2 separate regions of the Homo sapiens genome follow, and region 2 is linked to region 1. Evidence: promoter capture Hi-C in 16 types of primary human blood cells and fetal thymus (Javierre and others, 2016). All regions are on one chromosome and are shown on one strand. The core of a region is centred on a gene start or on the middle of the fragment in contact, and the rest is flanking DNA. Distances in the headings are between cores, read along the strand shown.

The links. Contacts are between HindIII fragments. The CHiCAGO score rates a contact against its expected background, and 5 or more counts as called.
Region 2: the fragment with the promoter of EFCC1 here is called in contact with the fragment with the promoter of CNBP in region 1 in 6 of 17 cell types (naive CD4 T cells, non-activated CD4 T cells, naive CD8 T cells and 3 more); the score reaches 7.6 in naive CD4 T cells.

What each region holds. Positions count from the first base shown.
Region 1 is chr3:129,181,828-129,187,590 of GRCh38, forward strand. It overlaps CNBP (CCHC-type zinc finger nucleic acid binding protein), which reads right to left and starts at 2,069. Exons shown (of 5, transcript NM_003418.5): 1 at 1,949-2,069. LOC105374101 (a long non-coding RNA gene) reads left to right here and starts at 2,247. Exons shown (of 2, transcript XR_924469.3): 1 at 2,247-2,645. RefSeq lists an enhancer at 2,403-2,492. The HindIII fragment of the contact is 13,108 bases long and covers 1-4,087 here.
Region 2 is chr3:128,997,938-129,003,700 of GRCh38, forward strand. EFCC1 (EF-hand and coiled-coil domain containing 1) reads left to right here and starts at 3,367. Exons shown (of 8, transcript NM_001377500.1): 1 at 3,367-4,387. The coding sequence starts at 3,692. It also overlaps a transcript of CFAP92 not described here. The HindIII fragment of the contact is 12,645 bases long and covers 1,450-5,763 here.

The DNA.
Region 1 (5,763 bases), core at 819-3,318:
AATCGGAAAAACTTAAGTCTTTAATTCTGCCCTTGGGAATGTAATAAATTATTCCTTTTATATTCCAATACACAAAGAACTCTTGTAGACAAGAATCAGGCTCAACAAACTAAAAACAGCATGTACCTAGGATCCTGGCAGTTTACAGGTGTTTGATTATCCTTAACCAGAGTAACTCATTAGAAGCATTTAAAACTATTTAGGAGGGGGGAGGGGGAAGCCCAGGAGATAAGTACTATATCTCTTATCTTTTTGAAACCCTCAAAGCTCTACACTCCAGTTATACTGCTTGAACAAACAAATAACATAAAATTGCTAATTTAAATTCGAATGGAAATAGTAACTGGTTACGTTTCACTCCAAAATTGGGTCAAACAATAGGAAAGGGGGAAAAATCTACTTTTAAAAATGTAATTTAAAAGCAAGATGGGGATATTCATTAGACCTCCTTCACTTTGAGAAAGACAAAAAACAAATTCAGTTTTGGCTTATCTCACCTGAGTCCTTCTGAATAATGCCTGAAACACACTAGCTAAAATCACAGACGATTACTGAGCAATGTTCTCTTTTTACAAGACCCCCAAGACCAGAAACAGTCACTTCCTTTGGAAGTGCCCTGTGGCTGAGGCCATATGGTTAACATGTGGGAACAAGCACAAGCCTTACCCATAATAAAATCAACACCTAAACCCAAATGTGGACCATTATGCCATTCTAAAACAGGTTCTCACGATATGGAAAAATCTAGATGGAGGGGAGCTAGTTGAATTTCGTGTCTCGTTTGTAATTACATCTGTTTCATTAATCCAAGAAATGATGCAGACTACCGCCCGCTGCTGTGGTTTTGGAGGTTTGACAAATTCGTGTTTTTTCTGGTAATGGCGCTTTTAAAGGATCCCAGCAACTTAAATAGTGTTAACTCTTGGAATGTGAGCCCCATCAGCCCCTTTTGGAATGGTAATGTAACACAAGCAACTTAGTATTTAAATGACGATAAAAATTCAAGAATCGGAAAACTATCAAGGATAGGGAGTATAAACTCTAAAAGCTCCCAAGTCTTCCAGCAGTCTCGCCACTCCAAACACAAAGGCTTCTTCAGGAACCCTTTGTTGTTGTTTGTTTGTTTGTTTGTTTGTTTTTTTAAGACGGAGTCTCTCTCTGTTGCCCATGCTGGAGTGTAGTGGCGCGATCTCGGCTCACCACAACCTCGGCCTCCGGGGTTCACGCGATTCTCCTGTCCAGCCTCCCGAGCTGCTGGGACTACATGCGCCCGCCACCATGCCCGGCTAATTTTTTATTTTTAGTACAGACCAACTTTCACCATATTGGTCAGGCTGGTCTCGAACTCCTGACCTCGTGATCCGCCCGCCTGGGACTCTCAAAGTGCTGGGATTACAGGCGTGAGCCACCGCGCCCGGCCTAAGAACCCTTTTCTAAGGCCCCCAAAACCCTTGGCACATGGCCCGCCAGGCGCACGACCCCAGCACATGGCCTGCACGACTATACCCACCCCATCCCCCCTTCATCCGCAGCCGGGAGCCTTTCCCCACCACACGGACTCCTTCCAGTGAGTTCCCGCCAAATCCACCCTCGGTCCCTCATTCCGCGACCCTCGAAGCGTCAGGGCCTCGGCCCCAAGGGCGCACGGGCGGGCCTCCTCTGCCCTAAGCCTGCGGCCTGGGGTGCGGCCGTGGCGCCGAAAGACCCGCATGCTCGGCGACCCAGCTTTCCAGGACGAAGAAAGGACAGAAGTGTCGTCCGACAGCGGTGCGCCAGAAACCCGGGTCCGAGGCGGCGGCAGCAGCCGAGCTTCCCGCCTGACGCAGCAGAGGCGCAGGCCAAAGTGCGGCCGCCATCGCCACCTCGCCGCTCCCTACCCTCTCTGTCCGCCACAGACCCGACCCGCACTGCGGCTCCGTCAGCGCCGGGCCCCTCCCCCAGCCCTCACCTTCCGCGTCGGAGCGGGCCCGCAGCGGCGGAGACTCGGACGCAGGCCTGGGGAAGACGGCTCGCAAGGTAGAGGCTGTTTATTTTGAGGGTCCTTGCCTGCGCCACACGCGGGTCTGCACACGGCCCCACATACGCCGCTGCGCACGGCTCTCCTCCGCCTCGCCCACGCGGCCAATCAGCGCGCGGGGTTCGGCAGTCCAATCAGAGCCGCCCGCGGCAGGGCCGCCCACTAGAGCGCGGCGCGGGGCGGGTGTTTCTGCGCGCAGCGTCTTTTCCCGCCGTGCCCCGCGCGCGGCCTTTCACGCCGGGATCCGGGTCCCGGTGCTTCTCGGTTCATTCCCAGCTGGGTCCGGGCCCGGCCAGACTGGGTGGAAATCTGGCTGACCTTGGTGGTCTGTCTTGGCCAGCTGGAGCAAAGGGATGCCAGGGGACGGGTCTCGGTGCAGTGACTGCCATTAGCTTGGGGCCGCAGAAAGTTTCTCCCCTTTCTCGGGCTCCTGCCAGGCCCTTGGCTTTCAGAGCCAGGCCCGATTTCTAGATAACATTTAAGTTTGCAGAAAAGGGGATGCCAAGTCACGGTGGTCACGGCTGTGGGATGCAGCCTCTGAGATTTGTATTAATTTTTGTGAGCCGGGGAAAGGCCTTGCTGCTTTCTCCGCCAGGACTGATGTGTCTTCCCAAGATGAAAGTGCCTGGTAAGGGCGAGGGGCCTCCCTGGGAAGGTCATGAGCATGTAAGGTAATGGGGCCTAGACTGTGACTTTTGGCACGTTTATGAGTGACATCCCCCGGGAGGGCAAGGATAACCATTTGACCTGGTCTGTCATATTCAGGAATAGACTTCAGTTTAGTTGTGGTATTTTCTCCAAAAGAGATTTGTGTATATAGCCCTAGATAGTCTTGTCAAGATTAAACCCAATTTAAACTGTTAACTATAAAATATTTTAGAATTTTGTCTCATTCTAGAATGGCTTTATTCGAAACAAAAAAAAAGGAAGAGTCCCAAGTTTCGTCTCAGTGAAACCTGCCAGTTCAACACTATGATTTATTTTTCTTTTTTTCTTTAATTTTTTTTTTTTTTAAGAGTAGGGTCTTGCTCTGTCGCTGGGTTTACAGGCATAAGCCACCAATCCCAAATCCCGGGGCTATGATTTTTGAAATCATGTTCGTGAGAAGGCAGAGCACATGTGTTGAGAGTCAGACTTTAAACCTGGGTTCAAATCATTAGTGCTTAATCATTGTAAAGCAGTTAGGAGGTTGCGTTCAACATAGCAATTATCAAAGAATGAATGTATAACTTTAAAGACCAATGATATTTTAAACTTTTTTTTTTTTTTGAGAACGGAGTCTCACTCCGTTGCCCAGGCTGGAGTGCAATGGCACGATCTCAGCTCACTGCAACCTCCGCCTCCTGGATTCAAGTGATTCTCCTGCCTCAGCCTCCCCAGTAGCTGGGATTATAGGCATGCGCCACCACGCCCGGCTAATTTTGTATTTTTAGTATAGGCGGGGTTTCTCCATGTTGGTCAGGCTGGTCTCAAACTCCCGACCTCAGGTGATCCGCCCACCCAAAGTGGTGATCGTCCTCCCAAAGCACTGGGATTACAGGCATGAGCCACCGCGCCTGGCCGAACTTTTTAAATTTATTTATTACTATTTTTTGAGACAGGGTCTCCCTCTGTTGCCCAGGCTGGAGTGCTGTCTCAGCTCACTGCAACCTCCGCTTCCCATGTTTGACCAATTCTGCCTCAGCCTCCTGAGTAGCTGGGACTGCAGGCGCCCACCACCACGCCTGGCTAATTTTTGTATTTTTAGTAGAGATGGGGTTTCATCATGTTGGCCAGGCTGGTCTTGAACTCCTGGCCTCAAGCGGTGCTAGGCCAAAGTGCTAGGATTACAGGTGTGAGCCACTGCACCCAGTGCCCCCAAAGTGCTAGGATTACAGGTGTGAGCCACTGCACTCAGCCTTAAACATTTTTTTAATTAAAGCAACCTAAGGTAAAATTTTTTAACCAAATTTAACCCATTCCCAATCAGATTGAATAAATGCCTAGCAGCTTATGTGTTGTGCTAAAACACGATATATTATCTGCCAATAAAAAACAGTATTTTGTATTTATATAGTTTTATTACCAAGAAGCTTACTCAGCTTTATGATTTCCCCTTTGTAATCTGATTAACCTTCATAGTATCTTGAAGTAATGTATAGTGTAGCAATCAGACACTTAGGTAGTGACTTCGTGAGCTCTGACAATGAGTCAATATAATGCAAGAGGCTATGTATGAAGTCCAACCTGGGTGCGTCCACACCACACCAAGAGGACAAGTTAAAATTACCATATGGCCAAAAATTAATATTTTCTGACTTATTTTTGTTTACCATTCCAACCATAGTACTGTATAAAATGTTTGCTATTCATTATAGACCCAGGAATGGAATATTCCTAATATTAAAACAAAAATTTCAACAGCTATAGAAAATGAAAGTGAGTGTGAGATAGAGATACTGGACATAATGTTCTATAGGTTTTAAAAGACTTAAGTAGAAGAAATGGAAACAATGTCTTTACTTCTTGGCAGTGGAGTGGTAACAGCTAATGGCTCTTTCTACCTGGCATGCAGCTTCCTGTAACGACTATTATTAATAGAGCCAGGCTGATCGTGAGGCGCCAGAAAAGGTGTATGGTGGAATTTAACTACAATGGCTTGTATTGCCTGGATATACCCTTTGGTATGCCTATTTTACTAGAAATGTTTGAAAATAGGAAAAAGCTCACTCAAAAGATAAGCTGCCAGTGGGACTTGAAGAGGCTCCCATTACATTCCTCTTCCCTGGAGATGTTTTATTCCCCTCCTCTCCTCCAGTGTTCAGTCTCATGCTCAGCATTGCAAGGGTTACAAAGGTGACTACTTAAGACACAGAGTTTGCCCTTGAAGAACTTGCAGGATAACAAGGGCCATAAGAAAGTATTAAGTGTCGGCTGGGTTCGGTGGCTCACGCCTGTAATCCAGCACTTTGGGAGGCCGAGGCGGGCGGATCACGAGGTCAGCTGATCAAGACCATCCTGGCTAACACGGTGAAATCCTGTCTACTAAAAATACAAAAAATTAGCTGGTCGTGGTGGCGGGGACCTATAGTCCAAGCTACTCGAGAGGTTGAGGCAGGAGAATCGTTTGAACCTGAGAGGCAGAGCTTGCAGTGAGCCGAGATCACGCCACTGCACTCCAGCCTGGGTGACGGAGCAAGACTCAGTCTCAAAAAAAGAAAAGAAAAAAAAAACAACTTCCCAGCACTTGGGAGGCCGAGGTAGGTGGATCACCTGAGGTCAGGAGTTTGAGAGCAGCCTGGGCAACATAGTGAAAACTTGTCTCTACTAATAACACAAAAATTAGCCGAGTGTGGTGGTGGGCACCTGTAATCCCAGCTACTTGGGAAGCTGAGGCAGGAGAATCGCTTGCACCTGGGAGCAAGAGATTGGGCCACTGCACTCCAGCCTGCACAACAGAGGGAGACTCTGTCTCAAAAAAAAAAAAAAAAAAAAAGTCCGGGCACGGTGGATCACGCCTATAATCCCAGCACTTTGGGGGGCCGAGGCAGATGGGTCATGAGGTCAGGAGATCGAGACCATCCTGGCTAACAAGGTGAAATCCCGTCTCTACTAAAAATACAAAAAATTAGCATTAAGTATCCTGAGAGAAGACCAGATAAAATGCTATGATTCAGCATTATTCCTAAAATGGGTACCAGTTGAGCAATACCTGCCAACTCTTAATTTCTGCTTAAATGCCCAACTGCATAGTACATGCTGTTAAA
Region 2 (5,763 bases), core at 2,117-4,616, 180 kb before region 1:
CTGTTTCTCCAAATTCTTGACAAGATTTATTGCCTGTTTTATTCACTACAGCTATTCTCATGAGTATAATATAGTATTTCATCATAGTTTTCATGTGCATTTCCCTAACAAGAATACTGAGATTGTTTTATGCACATGTTGGCTATTTATACAACTTCTTTGGTGAAATGTCTGTTTGTATCTTCACCCACTTTTTGATTGGATTGTTTGTCTTCTTGTTACTGAGTTGTTAAGAGTTCATTGTAAATTCGGAATATAAGTCCTTTACTGGGCATATGTTTTACAAATATTTTCTCCTAGTCTCTTGTTCGTCATATTTTCTTAATAGTGTCTTTTGAAGTGCAAATGTTTTGAACTTTGATGAAGGTCCGATTCATCATTTTTTTCTTTTTTGGATCATGCATTTGGTGTCGTATCTAAGAAATCTTTGACTAACAACAGGCCTATTTTTAATAGAAGTAAAGCTTGGTGTCTGAACACTAAGCAAATCTACTAACCAAGACCCCTAAAAACCCAAAAGCTTTATGACACTGAAAATAATGGCCCAAGGACATTCCCAGACAGTTCTGGGCTCTGGATAGAACAACACAAGTTTCCAAAAAACAGGCTGATAATACCACAAGCTTATAAAATATGTATACTCCTTGGCCCAGTAATAAATCACTCAAGATATGGCACAAACTGTTCACAGTATGGTTTTTGCGGAGAAAAGCTGAAAACCACCTCAGTGGGCATCTGTGGGGGATGACAAAGCACCTTATAGTTCATCCCCAGGGAGCACAGAGCAGCCTCTGGAGCAGTGTCTGCAAAGAAACCACAGCCAAGCTGTTTACAAAGCTCAGTTCCTGTGCAAAGAAAGATCCCAATGGCGCCCTTTCCACTGTGCTTTTCATGTCAAGTTGAATGAGCTACGATTTGCACACTGTAAAATTCAGATGTACACAGTCATGCAACCACTACACCATGAAGATAGAGTATTTCAATCACTCCAAAAAGTTCTTTCATGCCCAAATACATAGAAAAGTCTGGAAATAAATACATCAGAAATACACAGTGATCCTCTCTTGGTGGCAGAATGGTGGATGATTTTTGCTTTTTAGCATTTTCCCGGACCTTTAAAAGACACTTTAAACAATATACTATTTGAAATGGCTCAAACAATACTGAACTGACTTCAGAAAATCATTTCTTTGCCACAGCCCTGACTCTCTCCCACACAGACACACGCCCATCCCCCCAGCTCATACAAAAGAACGCAAGGAGACCTCTGAGTTTGCTCACTTTGAACCTTAAACAAAAACCTTGTGGATGCAACCAGAATTATTTCAGAGGTGCCTGGTAACACCGCAGGGCAGACAGACAGGCCTGACAGCAAACCATTATCAACCCTTACTTCCCTGAGCTGTAGGGGAGTGGAGGCCGGCAACGGCTCCCAGCAAGACATTTAAAAGCTTTCTTTTCAATATTGACTGGCCCAGGAAAGCTACTGTTCAAAGGATTCCTTCACCAGCTGCAGGGATGGGGGGTGGGGAGGGTGTTGCACTCTTGCCTGGGCTACCAGCTCTTAGGGCTGACATGAAATAAAATCAGGTTCTTTTTTTTTTTTTTTTTTTTTTTTTGAGACGGAGTCTCGCTCTGTCGCCCAGGCTGGAGTGCAATGGCAGGATCTCAGCTTACTGCAACCTCCGCCTCCCAGGTTCAAGCGATTCATCTGCCTCAGCCTCCCAAGTAACTGGGATTACAGGCGCCTGCCACCACGCCCAGCTAACTTTTGGTATTTTTAGTAGAGATGGGGGTGGTTCACTATGTTGTCCAGGCTGTTCTCGAACTCTTGACCTCAGGCAATCCACCCGCCTCGGCCTCCCAAAGTGGTGGGATTACAGGCGTGAGCCACCGCGACCGGCCAAGAAAAAGAAACACATGAGAACATCTTAACAAAAGGGAAATACTGCAGTGTCTCCCATCTGCAGAAAGAACCACTGAATCCACTTATGAATCCCTCCATCTTCTTCTGTGCACTCACATACACATGTCCTAGTAGAAAATACTTAGTATTGTTTTGTGTGTTTTTGTTCTTGTTATGTAAGCATCAGTGTTGTGCATAATCAGCTTGTGGCTTGCTGTGTCCGCTCATCCTCGTTTGCTGAGTCCTAGCTGATTTGATGGACACCAGGTTGTCTCCAGTTTCTCACTGTAATAAACAATGATGCAGTGAACATCCTGTGCACAGTGGCTTTCGAAGGTAGAAGCCAAGAAGTGGACGTGATGTAAAAACTTTGTCAAATTGCCATTACTTTTATAATTAAAAACAAACCTAAAAGAATATGTCCAAAATGCTTGGGGAGAAGCCTCTAACTCCTTCCCAGCAGATATGTACTCTGGGCAAAGCCTTCAAGAACAAGTACGAATTTGCCAAATGGACAACGTGCTGATTCTGGGATACTGTGGCAGAGGAGACAGAATGCTATCGCTTTTCAAACGGCAAGATTTTACATTTAAACTCACAGAGTTATCCACAAGGCAAGATTCTGTCTCTGTCATAGCTAGGAACAGCTGAAGAGTCTGCCTCTTGCTCCAACATGGCTGGGTACCGTGGCTGGATAACCGTTCCCGGTGCAGGTAACAGGTGGACAATATCACAATATCACTGCACCCCTCTCGTGAAAAAGAAAGGGAACACAGTCTAGCACTCACCAGAGAAGCAGGTTTTTCTTCATCTTCCAGAAATGTGTTCTAAAACACCAGAAAAAAACATCAGCCAATCATCGACCTGTTAACCTAACCCCAGCTCAAGAGATGGAACTCGGATCCCATTGCCAAGTCAGCACCGGCAGGCACAAAGGTGGCAGGGCCGGGAGACACCACTTTCCCGAGAGTCCTATCCCCACCCCCAACAGGGATCGGGAGAGAGCAGTTAGCACAGGGCTCGTCTCAGATGGGCTTCTCACCAGCGGGGTGCCCCTAACCTAGACCCCTTGCCTCTCCAAGCCTGTTTCCCTCTCTTTCCCAGTTACTACTTGGGGCTCTTTGCACGGTCTATGGTGGCACAAGAAGTGGGTTCGGAAACCCAGTAGCTGAATTGAAGCGGAGGGGAGGCTTTTCCGCACCTACGGCTACAGGGCGGCGAGAGCAGGCTTGCCAGGCAACCCTCGAAAGGCCTTCCGGGAAGAGGGGGAAGAGTGACGCTTGGGTGTGGGGGCACATCCCCAGCAACCGGACGAGGCCGCCACCCCCAAGGCCCTCCTGGGCTTCGGATCCCGCGCCAACCCCTCGCCCAGGTCTCGGAGCGAACTCTCCGCGCCAGGCGGGCGGGGCGGAGGGAGGAGGGAGTTGAGAGTGGACGGCCGGGAGTGGGAGGAAAAGCGCAGACGCCAGGAACGCCCCGTGAGTGAGGAGAGGAGAGCGTGGGAGTCACGCGGAGAAGCCAGACCCAGACGCCGACCGGGCACTGGTGGCGCTGCCGGGGTCCCGGGGGTTCCTGGACCCCCTACCCCAGGCCCCTCCAAAGCAACTGGGGTAAACCAGACGCACTGTGAGGCCAGCGCAGCTGCTGGACACGGTCCCCGGCGCCGCTCCAACCAGACCGCGACCGCTAAGCCCCTCCTTTCGAGAAACTCTGGGGCCGCCCCTGGAAGTGGCGGGGCGAAGGGACCGGAGGAGGGACCGGAGGAGCGAGGCGCGCGGCGCAGCGATGGAGCCGGTCAGCACGGGCGCGGAGGCCGGCATGGAGGGCGCGGGAGGTGACCCGTACCGGCGACCTGCGCGGCGCACGCAGTGGCTGCTGAGCGCCCTGGCGCACCACTACGGGCTGGACCGCGGCGTGGAGAACGAGATCGTGGTGCTGGCCACCGGCCTGGACCAGTACCTGCAGGAGGTCTTCCACCACCTGGACTGCCGCGGCGCCGGCCGTCTGCCCCGCGCCGACTTCCGAGCGCTCTGCGCTGTGCTGGGGCTGCGCGCGGAGGGGGCCACCACGGCCGGGCAGGCAGCAGGTGACGGGAACTCCAGAGATGTGACCCCCGGGGATGCGGCCGCTGAGTTGGCCACGGACGGGGACTCAGATACCGATGAAGAGGCGCGCCTGGCGCTGCGCGCCGAGCCGCCGGAGCTCACCTTCCGCCAGTTCCACGCGCGCCTCTGTGGCTACTTCGGCACCCGTGCGGGGCCCCGGCTGCCCCGCGGCGCTCTCAGCGAGCACATCGAGACGCAGATCCGCCTGCGCCGTCCGCGCCGCCGCCGCCGCCCGCCCTGCGCGCCTGGCCCCGACAGCGGTCCTGACTGTGAGCGCGTTGCGCGGCTGGAGGAGGAGAATAGCAGCTTGCGCGAGTTGGTGGAGGACCTGCGCGCCGCGCTGCAGAGCAGTGATGCGCGCTGCCTAGCACTGCAGGTGCGCGCCGGCCACGAAGGGAGGGTGGTAACGCCCGGGAGAGGGCTCGAACTAAAAGCTGGCTGGCTGCGGAGCCCGACAGGACAGAGTCAGAGGAAGGGGAGACAGAGGGCAGCCCCACACCATCCCACTCCGCATCAGCACACTTGCATCTTGCCCCTGTTCCTCCCCATTCCACTCCAGTCCCCAACCCTATTCTTACCACCTATTCCATTCCTGAAAACCCCAATCACACTCAAACAACCATACCCCACTTTTCTGCTCCACCGCCACATCATCGCGTCTTGCCCCTTTAACCTAGGAATTGCACCTGTCTGGGTAGTCTCACATATTCCCTTTCAACAAGCATCTTTCTCTCTCCTTCCTGCCAGGCTTCTGGGAGGTTTAGGAGACAGAAGTGTGAAGAAGGCCCTGTCCTCACCTTTAGGGATATCCCTGCCTCCTGGGGTAGACTGACAGCTCCTTCTGTCAATCAGCAAAGACTTATGGGGCTCCCTGTGGGAGAAACAGAGACAAGTGAGAAACAGACAATGTGGCTCACACTGTGGATCAGGCACTCACGGGCCACCAAGTGCCTGCGGGAACCAGACCCGCTCTGGGCTATTGAGAAGAAACCATGGGGTGAGATAGGGACCCAGCCTTAGCATCTGGGAGCCGTCGACAAACACTTAAGCACTGTGCCAGCCGAGCACCAAGGGCAGTGCTGGGCCGCAGGGGTCAGAGGAGGAAAGGAACAGCCCCTACCCCAGGCGACAACAGGCCAGGAAGAAACTGACATTATATGACCCCGCCTTAGCTCAGGACACTGCAGAGTGCAGGGAAGTGGCAAGGTGTGGTTTTCAGTGTCAGTGTGCATGGAAGCCAGGGTGGAGGCGGGAAACTACTCCTCTGATGTGGAATCCCAAGTAACGTACTGGGAGCCATGGGATGCGCCTGAACGGTCTTCCGGCATCTCTCATGCTTGGTATTTATTGAGCACCTACTATGTGCCAGGTTTGTTTTAGGCTCTGGGAACACACCAGTAAAGACAGATAGAAACCACCCTCAAAAGCCTCTAGTGAGCAGGCACGGGGAGGGCTGGAAATGCCACTGGGGGGAGTCTAGGAGATGAGGAACCGCCACCCGGCAGGCTGAACGCCGCCAATACAGTAGGCCGAGAAGAGTCGCGAGGTTGGTACTATAGAGGGAACAGAATACAGGCGTCGTGTCTCAGTTTCCTTCAGTGAAAAAACGTTGGGGGGTGGGGGATGAGGAGGAATCAGAGCTTGGGCCTCCCTGGGGATGTGGCGAGGGTTAAAGGAGCTTGGACGCACCGGACCTAAGGGCCTGGCACCCGGAAGCAGACGGCGCAAGAAACGTGCTCAAGCGCTTCTGGG